2 separate regions of the Homo sapiens genome follow, and region 2 is linked to region 1. Evidence: promoter capture Hi-C in 16 types of primary human blood cells and fetal thymus (Javierre and others, 2016). All regions are on one chromosome and are shown on one strand. Each heading gives the region's core, a stretch centred on a gene start or on the middle of the fragment in contact. The rest is flanking DNA. Distances are from core to core; before and after follow the strand shown. Region 1 holds the start of STOM (stomatin). Region 2 holds the start of PSMD5 (proteasome 26S subunit, non-ATPase 5).

Region 1 (5,629 bases), core at 1,788-4,287:
GTAGTTACAATAGTTTTCAGGAAATTGCTTTTCCATGCCTTCTTAAAAAAACTGATTTTGAATTCCATCTGTATCACTTTATCAACATCTTTTTTTTCCCTCAAAGATGACTAGGAATCAGTGACTGTCTTTTACTAGGTAAAATTTATACCATCAAATGGCACCAAAAATCTATTTAATCATGAATAAATATGCCAGTTTTGTAGACTTGGTCTTCCATAAGTTAATTTATGACCACTGATGGAATAACTCAGATTAATTATTGAAGAAGTTACAAAGTTCTCTCCAATCTGATTGGCTATAACAACTGAAATAAACAATCAGTCTCCCAAAGGGTTTTATTTGTTGACATGGCTCTTAATTACAGTGATACATTCTTTGCAATTACTTGCATTATTTCATTACAAAGTGAATGCATCGCCTTTAAGAAAAACTAGTCTTGCCCTAGGCCTGGTGCTATTTACCTACCTAGGACTAATTCTCAGTAAAGACAAAGAGGCAGAGTTTAGGCTTTTAAAATTCCACTGCTTCTTTCACAAGCAGCCTTCTGGAAGTCATCACTGAAGCTGTGTTCCTCCAGGCTTTTTTTGTTTATTGTCTCTCAACTTAAGTAAAGTACTGAAGTTAGACAAGGTTCTACATTTTGGTATCCATCTCTGGGATAGGGAAAATGATTCAGAAAATCAGATAGCCGGGGTTTGAAACAGGGCTGAAAATTTTAGAAACTGTGATTTTGCCATGTGAGCCGCAGTATCCTTATTGTGAAATGGTGAATAATGACTTTTTCCTTGTAGAGCTGTTACAGAATGCAATTAGATAATGTTTGTAAAGCACTTAAACTGTCTTTTGGCACAGGGAAAGCATTCAATAACCTCTATTTAATAAATTCCAGCAATACCTTTCCTAGTAGCGTCAAATTTGTTAGGTTTACATTAAAAAAACACAGACTATGCAAAATTTTATTTGTATGTCTAATTTTTGAGAGGAAGTGGTGGTTTTCATTAGATCTTGAAAGATTTCTGTCTAAACAGTAGTTAAGTGTAGAACCAAGGAAAAAAACTGGAAGTTAAAAACTCATCTATGACCACTTGTCTGTAAATAAACATTAAGTACAAAGATCATGTTGATTCTCAAAGAACTCCAAGCAGATTTGCCACTGCAGTTTCCCACCAGGAGGTCAGGGTATTGAGGAATGCATGCTAATACCCACCTTTTTATCTAGGAAAAGACAACTAACTATCGAAGAGGCAGTTACCACCCATTTTTTCCCTATTCAAGTTTTAGAATCAGTCAAATCTAGATTTAAATACAAACTAAGTGACTTTAAGTAATTTAACTTCTTTGACTATCAGTTTCATCAAGTATAATATGGGGATAAGAATACCTACCACATCATCTGTTGTGAAGATTCAATAAAATAATATATACATAAAATACGTGGCACTGGGGGGGTCGCGGTGGCTCATGCCTGTAATCCCAGCACTTTGGGAGGCCGAGGCGTGTGGATCACTTGAGGTCAGGAGTTTGAGACCAGCCTGACCAACATGGTGAAACCCTGTATCTACAAAAAATACAAAATCAGCTGGGCATGGTGGTGCACGCCTGTAATCCCAGCTACTTGGGAGGATGAGGCAGGAGAATCACTTGAACTCGGGAGGCGGAGGTTGCAGTGAGCGGAGATCACACTCCAGCCTGGGCAAGAAAAGCGAAACTCCGTCTCAAAAAAAAAAAAAAAAGTGATACGGAGCCTGACCTATTTAGTTTCAATTTTTGTTGTTGTGGTTGCCATTATTCTCATCAACTCCTCCCTGTTACACTCTCCATTTGGGAAGATAACCTGCAACGTTATTAGTAGACAAAAAGTGAGGAATAAAGATTTCTGTAATTCCTTTGATGCTCCTGGGAAGGAACTGAACACAGGGATCCCTGGACAAGGGAAATGGAACTTATAGCTAAGATGCTGTGGATAAAGCTGGCTTTACAAATAATCAGAATAGATGACTCCAATGTCATGTTCTTTGAGGGGTCCTGGAAAGGACCACCCAGCCCTCTAAATTGCTTTCACTGCCATCCTGCCTGAAATTCCATCTTTAGAAACACTGTAATTCCTCTGGATCACTAAGAGCTCCTGAGTGGGTACCAGGACTCCTGAGAGGTCCACCATCTCTCTTTATTGGAACCCCCTCCCCAGAGTACCAGTTCCTCCACAGGGGAACGAGACTGAGCCACTTACAGCTCCTGCCTTGAAGACTGGGAAGGGAGGGTGGGGGTGAGGGTGGGAGAACTCAGGGTTCCTGGCGAGGAACAAAAGCCGGGAAGGAGAGTTCTCCAAAACGCAGAGGAAAGCGGAGGGGGAAAAATGGGGCAGAAAGTGGAGCTAGAAAGAGAGGTAAGAAGAAAGCCAGAGAGACTTCTTCCTTCTGCAAATCGGTCTAAGTTTCGGGAGGTGGGATTGGGGGAGGAGGGGGTTCACCCTGGGGCCAGGCCAGGGCTGGGTGGAGGAGGCGGCCTTCGAGAGAGTGAGTCGGGAAAGAAGGGGAGTGGGCAAAGGGTGAGATGTGGGGTCCCGGTCCCCGCCTCGCTGGCTGCCAGTTCCCTCTGCGTTTCCTAGTCCGCGTGCGTGACACGAGATAGTGCAGCCCTGGCATGGGGCTTGGCATCTGGCGGCCGCGAGATAACCAGGGCCCGTGCGATGGGAAACGTGCCGTTGGCAGCCCGCCACCCCTCCATCGTGACCTCAGTCTGCCAAACAGGGTTCGTGATGCTCAGTTTACTAGGGAGGAGCCGCGGCTTTGAGATCTCGCCCAGCCCGAAGCAGCGGAGACTGGCCAGGAGCCCGGCTGTCAGACCTCGGAGCGCACGCTGCGGGCGGGGGCTCGGTCCACGGGGGAGGGTCAGGGGACGCGGGACTCACCCTTGAAGGAGTCGGGGAGCCGCTGGGCTTCGGAGTCCCGTGTGTGCCGCTTCTCGGCCATGCTGCCCGAGACGCAGTCGCACTCCCCCGTCCTCGTTGCCAAACCCGGAGCCGCCGGGAATGCCCTGAGGAGCCAGAGGCACAAGACCCAGATTGCCGCCCCGCCCCCAATCGAGGTCCCGCCCTCGTGAGAGTTGGCCAATCAACGCCCAGGATCGAGGAGGACCCACCTCCCAATCCCCGCCCTCCTGTCCCTCCACGGCGCGACTGCTTCGCAGTCACTTCCCGCTAGTTCTGTGGGCTGAGGGGCGTGGCCTGAGGGGCGTGGCCTGAGGGGCGAGAGCCCCCAAGGCTGTGGGTATGAGGCCGGGGCCCTGCACCGGAAGGGAGGGCGGAAGCCACGGGACGTGGAGCAGATGGTGAGGATAGTGGGGAGGTAGCAGCAGAGGATGACCCGAGGCAAAAGTGCAAGTGAAGAAAAGTCGCCTTGCCGGGCAGAGGTACGGGACCAAGGCGCCTCCTCTGGGCTGAGGAGTTAGAGGGAAGAAAATGGCGCCCTGTCATGAGGGCGCGAGGTCCGAGTTGAGGGGAGAAGACTGAGGGACACAGAAGTGGCCGAAGTGAGGGCGCTGAGGTCAGCCTGAGCTGAGAGGGCCGGCAGATCACGCCGCAGCCGAAGTGAACGAACTCGAGTGAGGTGTGTTAAGAAAATCAAAATGTATAAATTTGGAAAAGGAGAGGAGGCCGGGCGCGGTGGCTCACGCCTGTAATCCCAGCACGTTGGAAGGCCGAGGCGGGTAGATCATCTGAGGTTAGAAGTTCGAGACCAGCTTGGCCAACATGGTGAAACCCCGTCTCTGCTAAAAATACAAAAATTAGCCGGGCGTGTGGCGCGCGCCTGTAATCCCAGCTACTTGGGAGGCTGAGGCAGGAGAATCGCTTGAACTTGGGAGGCAGAGGTTGCAGTGAGCCGAGATGGCCTGGGTGACAGAGCGAGACTCCGTCTCAAAAAAACAAAACAAAAAACAAAAAAACAGGAGAGGAGACTTTATTTCTTGTAAGGGGTTACAGCCTGCAAGGTGGCCATTCCGCAGGCTGGAGAATGGCCAGGACCAGAGACAGGCATTTCGTTGGAGGAGGGGTTGGAGTAGCGGCTTTATGCTGAACAGCTTGGGTAGACATGCATATTCAGCAGGTGACAGGAGGAGCTATGAATATTCATGAGGGTGGTCCTGACGCATGCCCATTGAGCAAACATGCATGTAACATACAACCCATGTTCATTTTGGAGTGAAGAGTTACCAATTAAATGTTAAATGCCTGGCCTGCATGGTGACGTCCCCATCTCTACAAAAAGTAAAAAAAAAATAGCCAGGTGGGGTGGTGTGTGCTTGCGGTCCCAACTAGTCAGGAGGCTGGGGCAGGAGGATCACTTGAGCCCAAGAGTTGGAGGCTGCAGTGATGTATGATCAGATCACTGCACTCCAGCCTGATGGACTCTAAAAAATAATAACAATACATGTATTACAGTTAGACCCCATGCGTCAAAAGGTCTTTTCAGGACAGGAAGGTGTGCAAGTATGCAGTCTGTGTAAACTAGCCAGAGCCAGTCCATGGTCGGTAGTTTTCCTATGAGGAGAAAGTTACTGAAATCAGCCTCTTGTCCAATTAAAGCTGTAATGATGGCTGGTGGAATAGGGGTTCCATTAGGCCACATCTGGTGGAGCTGCAAATTGTTTTAATATTGCTTATCTCGAGGCCAGTGCTTGTTAAGCTGCTAGAGAAAGAGAACAACCTTGTGGCAGTTAGAACACAGTTTATTCTCTAAGTGAAGGGATGTGTGCCTTAACCTTTGCCTGGCATGACCTTAGGTATAATTTGTTTATAATTTGGTATCTTATTGTCACAAACAGTCTGTTCTGTCAGTCTTATGATCTGTGTTTTAACGTTAATGCTGGTCAGCTGTTGTGTCTAAACTCCAATACGATGAAGTTATAATGAGGCGAGTCTGACCTTCTGTCCTGTCATTGGCTGGGAACTCAGTTTTAAAGTTTTCTGGAGTCCCCTTGGCCACAAGGGAGTCCATTCAGTCGGTGGGGTCATTTATTCAAACAAAATCTTCTTGGAGCATCTTCCATGTGGCAGGGAGTGTGCTAAGGGCCTCGTGGAGTTTACCTTATACTCTAGTTGGGAGATGGGCCACAAACAAGTAATTGAATCATTACACATGGTGAAGGAAGCTGTGAAAGGAGTGGAATATTCGGAGAACAGCAAAGGTTAGGACAGGGGAACACCTCTGTAAGGAAGGGGCTTTGAGATGTCGCCTGAGAAATGAGAAGGAGCCAGCCTGGGGAAGGGGAATAAGCGGTGCAGGAGGTGGGAAAGGGTATCCCAGGTAGAGGGAAAAGCATGTGCAAGGGCATTCCCAACCTCAGGCCTTCTCTTGGGGTGTGGCTGAAGACCTCATATTTGGAAAGTAGGCTGTGTTTGCATTAGACTTGTTCTATTGCACAATGTTCAAAGTATGTTAATGTACACAAGGTGCACTTATAAAAACATTCGATTTTGAAATAAGTACAGATTCACAGGAATTTGCAACAACAGTACAGAGAGGTCACATGTCCCCTTTACCCAGTTTCCCCCAATAGTTACGTCTTACTTAACTAGAGTATCAAAACCAGGAAATTGACAGTGGCACAAAATGTATTTATAGTT
Region 2 (5,629 bases), core at 2,160-4,659, 530 kb before region 1:
ATTTCATAGGCAGACCCAAATAATGTTAACTGATAGACATCATGAATGGAGAACACTTACAGAAAAGGAAGGAATCTTAGAAGGTCAGAGCCAAGAAAGCGCTCTGAAATCATCCACTGTTGATTCAGTGGTTCATAATCTTTTCAAGTAGTAAGGTCACTTGAAAGTCTTTGATCACAAACATTTCAAAACTCTTTTAAATGATCAAATTATCAAATACAAAGTGGTTTTTTTTTCCTTTTTTTCCCCAGAATCCAGGTAAGAATTATAAAATGTTTTTTTAATCTTTTTTTTTTTTTTTTTTTTTTTAGACAGAGTCTTGGCTGGGCGCAGTGGCTCATGCCTGTAATCCCAGCACTTTGGGAGGCCGAGGCAGGCAAGGCAGATCACTTGAGGTCAGGAGTTCGACACCAGCCTGGCCAACATGGTGAAACTGCATCTCTATTAAAAACACAAAAAATTAGCTGGGCGTTGTGGTGGTGGCACGTGCCTATAGTCCCAGCTACTCAGGAGGCTGAGGCAGGAGAATTGCTTCAACCTGGGAGGCGAGGTTACAGTGAGCTTACATCCTGCCACTGCACTCCAGCCTGGGCAACAGAACGAGAACCCGTCTCAAAAAAAAAAAAAAAAAAAAAAGGGCCTCACTCTGTCACCCAGGCTGGAGTGCAGTGGTGCAATCTTGGCTCACTGCAACCTCTGCCTCCTGGGCTCAAGGGATCCTCCCCCTCAGCCCTCTAAGTAGCTGGGACTATAGGCACGCACGCCCAGTTAATTTTTTGTTTTGTTTTGTAGAGACAGGGTTTCACCATGTTGCTCAGGCTGGTCTCAAACTCCAAAGCTCAAGCGATCCACCCGCCTCAGCCTCCCAAAGTGTTAGGATTACACGTGTGAGCCACTGCTCCCGGTCTACAAAGTGTTTTTATTATTATTATTATATTATTATTATTATCTTGAGATGGAGTCTCACTGTGTTGCCAGGCTGGAGTGCAGTGGTGCAATCTTGGCTCACTGCAACCTCCACCTCTCAGGTTCAAGTGATTGTCCTGCCTCAGCCTCCCAACTAGCTGGGACTACAGGTGTGCGCTACCAAGCCCAGCTAATTTTTGCTTTTTTTTTTTTTTTTTTGAGACGGAATCTCACTCTGTTGCCCAGGCTGAAGTGCAGTGGAGCGATCTCGTCTCACCGCAACCTCTGCCTCCCAGGTTCAAGAGATTCTCCTGCCTCAGCCTCCAGAGTAGCTGGGACTACAGGCACGTGCCACCATGCCCGGCTAATTTTTGTATTTTTAGTAGAGACAGGGTTTCACTATGTTGGCCGGGTTGGTCTCGAACTCTTGACCTTGTGATCCACCCGCCTCGGCCTCCCAAAGTGCTGGGATTACAGGCGTGAGCCACCGTGCCTGGCCTAACTTTTGTATTTTTAGTAGAGACGGAGTTTCACCATGTTGGCCAGGATGGTCTCGATCTCTTGACCTGGTGATCTGCCCGCCTCAGCCTCCCAAAGTGTTGGGAATACAGGCGTGAGCCACTGCACCGGGCCTACAAAGTGTTTTTAATCAAACACTACGGATGTGTAAAAAATCAAAAATAAAAGTTGTCCTACTATTTTCAGACCCACTTCCCTATTAATAGTTTCTGGTGTACCTTTGCAGATATTTGCAATGTTATACAAGTTTTACATGCCTGTGGGGGTTGGGAAGATTGTAATCCTTTTTAAAAATTACAGGTTAAAATTATAGATTGATATACCCTGCGATTTTCTTTTTCATTCAACAACACAGAGATTGGCCGGGCGCAGTGGCTCACGCCTGTAATCCCAGCACTTTGGGAGGCCGAGGCGGGCGGATCACGAGGTCCGTAGATCGAGACCATCCTGGCTAACATGGTGAAACCCCGTCTCTACTAAAAATACAAAAAATTAGCCGGGCGTGGTGGCGGGCGCCTGTAGTCCCAGGTACTCGGCAGGCTGAGGCAGGAGAATGGCGTGAATCAGGGAGGCGGAGGTTGCAGTGAGCCGAGATCGCGCCACTGCACTCCAACCTGGGAGACAGAGCGAGACTCGTCTGAAAACAAACAAACAAACAAAACAAAACAAAACAAAACACAGAGATCTTTCCATGTCCACATACATATATATACATCTACCTCAATAACTTAAATAACTGCACAGTGTTACAGAGTAATAGCGCATAATTTGGAATCCTCTGTTAACGGATATTTAGATTGTTTCTAGTGTTCTGGTGCCACACACGATATGTTATATTCTTGCATATAATGTTGTAGGGTCCTCCAGTCGCCCCCTTTCTTTCTCTGTCCTGATGGAAAATCAGAGTGCCTTGATTGCTCTCTGACCTAGCCAGCGGCAGGTTTCCCTAGCAGGCTTGACCATAAACCAGGGGCCTTGAACATTCACAGGCCTGATAAAGGTACCTAGGTTGTTGCCCAAAACACTGGAAGAAACTGGCCTCAACCCTGAGCCAAATTCCTTTAAACTCTCATCTGAACTCCATACCCTGACCCCCTCACTGCGGACATACCCAGGAACACCTTTCTCCCGGTGTCCGTCTTGACAATTTCTGCAGCCCTCTGCAGGTTTCCCCCTAAACGCTTTTGGACTGATCGCCTTGGCATTCAGTGCTTCTTTTTCTGTCATCCCAACCAGCCACATCTCGGGAAGGTTTGAAGCACTCCCTCGTGGGAACTCTCTTGCCGCTGCTTTTGGGGCGATTCCAGCCTCGGGTTCGAAAGAACAAAGTAACTGCACATTTTGTGCGCGTATACTTGCATTAAATTTTTTTAACAAGAATGACTGGATGAAAAAGCATGTGAATTTAAAATGCTGATGGTTCTTGCCACATTGCCAGGATAGGATCCTTTTAGAAGGGGAAACAAATCAAGAACCTGTACAAAGAGATGTGGAATGCTCCTTGTAAGTGGACAGCTTTGCTTTCCTCCTTTAATTTCTATTTGATGAAGAAGGCAGTGCCTCACTGCTCAGAGGCAGCGAGGCCAGGCGACGGGAGAAAACACCCTGGGGCACTCTCAGAGGCTGAACCTGAACCCCATCTCCTGCCTCTGAACCCAGGATCCTTCCTTCTCTGCAAATTTCGGCTACTTTCCACCTCCCCTGTGACTGGGAAAAGCGCTGTTCTTGCCCTCAACCACTCTCATGTCCATATTTAGGGGTGCCCCTCTCCTCGGCTCAAGCCCCCGGGGTCCTCTCACCTATGGTTCTCGTTAAGCAGGGAGAAGAGCGGGCCGAGGCGCAGCTCCGCCGCTTGCTGGCGAAGCTCGTTGAGCGGCACTGCCTGCAGCACGGAGTGAAGCGCGCGTAGCTCCTCCAGCGGCGCTTCCAGCCTCGCTACCTCTCTCAGCAGCGCCAAAGCCTGGGCTGCCATCTTGCCCCCCGACGCAGGGGCTGGCCCAGCGGCCCAGTTCCCGGGGCGCTTTCCTGAACCTCGCGAGATCTGATCACAGCCTCCTTGTCCCTGAGATGGCTATGGGGCTGCCAAGCCTCGCGAGAAGCCTCCGTTAGGGCCGTGTCAACTGTAGCCAGTGGTTGCGGCTCCCTCAGTCTGGCGTCATCTAGGTCGCTGCTCAGGGAAATGCGGAGGCCAGTAGGCTTACGTGTTTACCGCGTAGGGCAAAGCCTTGCCAAATTCCCGGCCAGCGGAGCGGCGAGGGTGGGGACTCACGGGAAGTTAAACAGCCTCGTCGGCGTCCTCGAGGCTCCAAAACCAGGCTCTAGGCGGGGACGACTGCAGCCGTTATGGAGGCCACCGCGGCTACGGCCGCGGCTGAGGCCTCCCCAGGTGGAGCGGTGGCCTGGAGGGGAATCTTGATCCTGGGCCAGCCACCTGTCAAGAGGAGGCGGAGCGTCATGCCTCTGGAAGACTGGATGAATATTCTCCAGGAGCCTGACGAAGGCGTGAGTAATAGGGACGTGCGCCGCCTTGTTGGTGTTGATCAGTCCACCAAGGAGAAGCAGCTGGTCGCAGTGGCCGTACCTGTAATCCCAGCGCTTTGGGAGGCCGCGGCGGGAGGATCGCTTGAGCCCGGGAGTTCGAGACCAGCCTGGGCAACATAGTGAGAAACCCGTCTCTACCAAAAAGAAAAAAAAAAAAAAAGGAAAAAAATTAGTGCGGTGTGGTGGCACGCACCTGTAGTCCCAGCTACTCGGGAGGCTGAAGCGGGAGGGTCCCCTAAGTCTAGGAGGTCGAGGCTTCAGTGAGCGGTGATTGTGCCACTGCACTCCAGCCTGGGCGACAGAGCAAGACCCTGCTTTCCCCTCTTGTCCTCCACTACCCTCAGGAAACCAAGAAAGACCAGCGTGGAGAGTTGGTCGCCCATCTGCTCTAAGCTGCTGTGTATTCCCCTGTAATGTAAACATCGTGAAGGTGGAGACCCAGTTAACCTTTTAGGTGGAAGGCCAGATGACAGAGGGCGGCATCTGACCCGGAAGGCCCTCTGCAACCAGGCCAAATACATCTACAGGGAACCAATGGGAAACATCTGGGGAGGACAACCCAAATAAGTATCATGCGAGCAAGGGATGGTTTGAGAACTTTAAAAATCGCTGCTGTTTTGCAACATACGAAGTTGATGGGGAGGAAGGACCCTTAAATCCTGAGTGGGTATCGAGTATTCCAAGCAACTGGAGAGAGGCTTTGTGCCTCAACAGGTCTTCAACGCCAAGGAGATGACCCATCTTTTGCAGTGCATGCCTTCCTACTTTTGGGGCAAAAGACAAAAATCTGGAAAGCTTAGAGGAAGCTAAGGACAGGATTTCCCTCATTTTTTTGTGGCAGTGCCTCAGGTGACAAAATGATAAAACCACTGCTGCTTTACAAAGACTCTAACACCCCACTTGTCTTTTAGAGATAAACGCCTTCCTGTTTTCTTGTAATCACACCCAGAATCACCACTGCCACTTTTTGGATTAGTTTTACAATTTTTTTATCCATCAAATCCGAAGTCATTTAACAAAAAAAATCTGGAAATCAGAATGTTGCTAACTGTGGACAGAGGTCCCAATCACCCAGATTCATTATTCTTTGTTCATTCTAATGTTGATACTGTGTTTCTCCCTCAGGAAGGCCCTAGCTTTCTTCAGCCCTTGGGTCAGGGTATAACTGAAGCATTTGAACATAATCAAGCATATGTTTGACCACTTTGCTGACTGTATTGAAAAAACCCTCACCTTACTCTGAAAGAAGCATGGCAACAGTACAATATTGCCGATGCTTTGGTAGTGATAAAAGAGGTGATGGGTGATATAAAATCAGCCACTCTTAAGCTTGCTGGAAACTGTGGGAGGATGTGTGAATGATGCATATTTCCCTAGAGCTAATGAAGAAGTTAAAAAAAATCTTAGTGTCTGCAAAACAGGTGGGTTTAAGATTTATTGATATTAGGGAAAGTGAAATTAATGAGCTACTCAAGTTTCTGTCTTTGGTCATCACTGAGAGTCTATTTCCATAGGAAGAAGTCTTTGCAGAGGAAATTGAATGCTGTCTGATGCTACAATTCATATGGATCCTTTCCTGGATTGAAGCCTGACTTTTAAAAAAGGTTTCAATAAATTGCTTATACCTATGAAGAGATGCAAAAGAACCTTCAAAATAAAGCAA

What was found. Contacts are between HindIII fragments. The CHiCAGO score rates a contact against its expected background, and 5 or more counts as called.
Region 2: a contact is called between the fragment with the promoter of PSMD5 here and the fragment with the promoter of STOM in region 1, in 3 of 17 cell types (naive CD8 T cells, activated CD4 T cells and total CD8 T cells). The highest score is 7.1, in naive CD8 T cells.

Annotation. Positions count from the first base shown.
Region 1 is chr9:121,367,213-121,372,841 of GRCh38, forward strand. It overlaps STOM (stomatin), which reads right to left and starts at 3,038. Exons shown (of 7, transcript NM_004099.6): 1 at 2,915-3,038. The coding sequence starts at 2,975. It overlaps LOC102723324 (a long non-coding RNA gene), which reads left to right and starts at 2,681. Exons shown (of 7, transcript NR_187160.1): 1 at 2,681-2,754. RefSeq lists enhancers at 3,043-4,003, 3,463-3,552. The HindIII fragment of the contact is 8,041 bases long and covers 1-5,629 here.
Region 2 is chr9:120,839,513-120,845,141 of GRCh38, forward strand. PSMD5 (proteasome 26S subunit, non-ATPase 5) reads right to left here and starts at 3,410. Exons shown (of 10, transcript NM_005047.4): 1 at 3,225-3,410. The coding sequence starts at 3,397. It also overlaps the pseudogene CUTALP. RefSeq lists enhancers at 3,031-3,560, 3,132-3,431, 3,319-3,613, 3,379-3,673, 3,632-3,981 and 1 more. The HindIII fragment of the contact is 10,742 bases long and covers 1-4,759 here.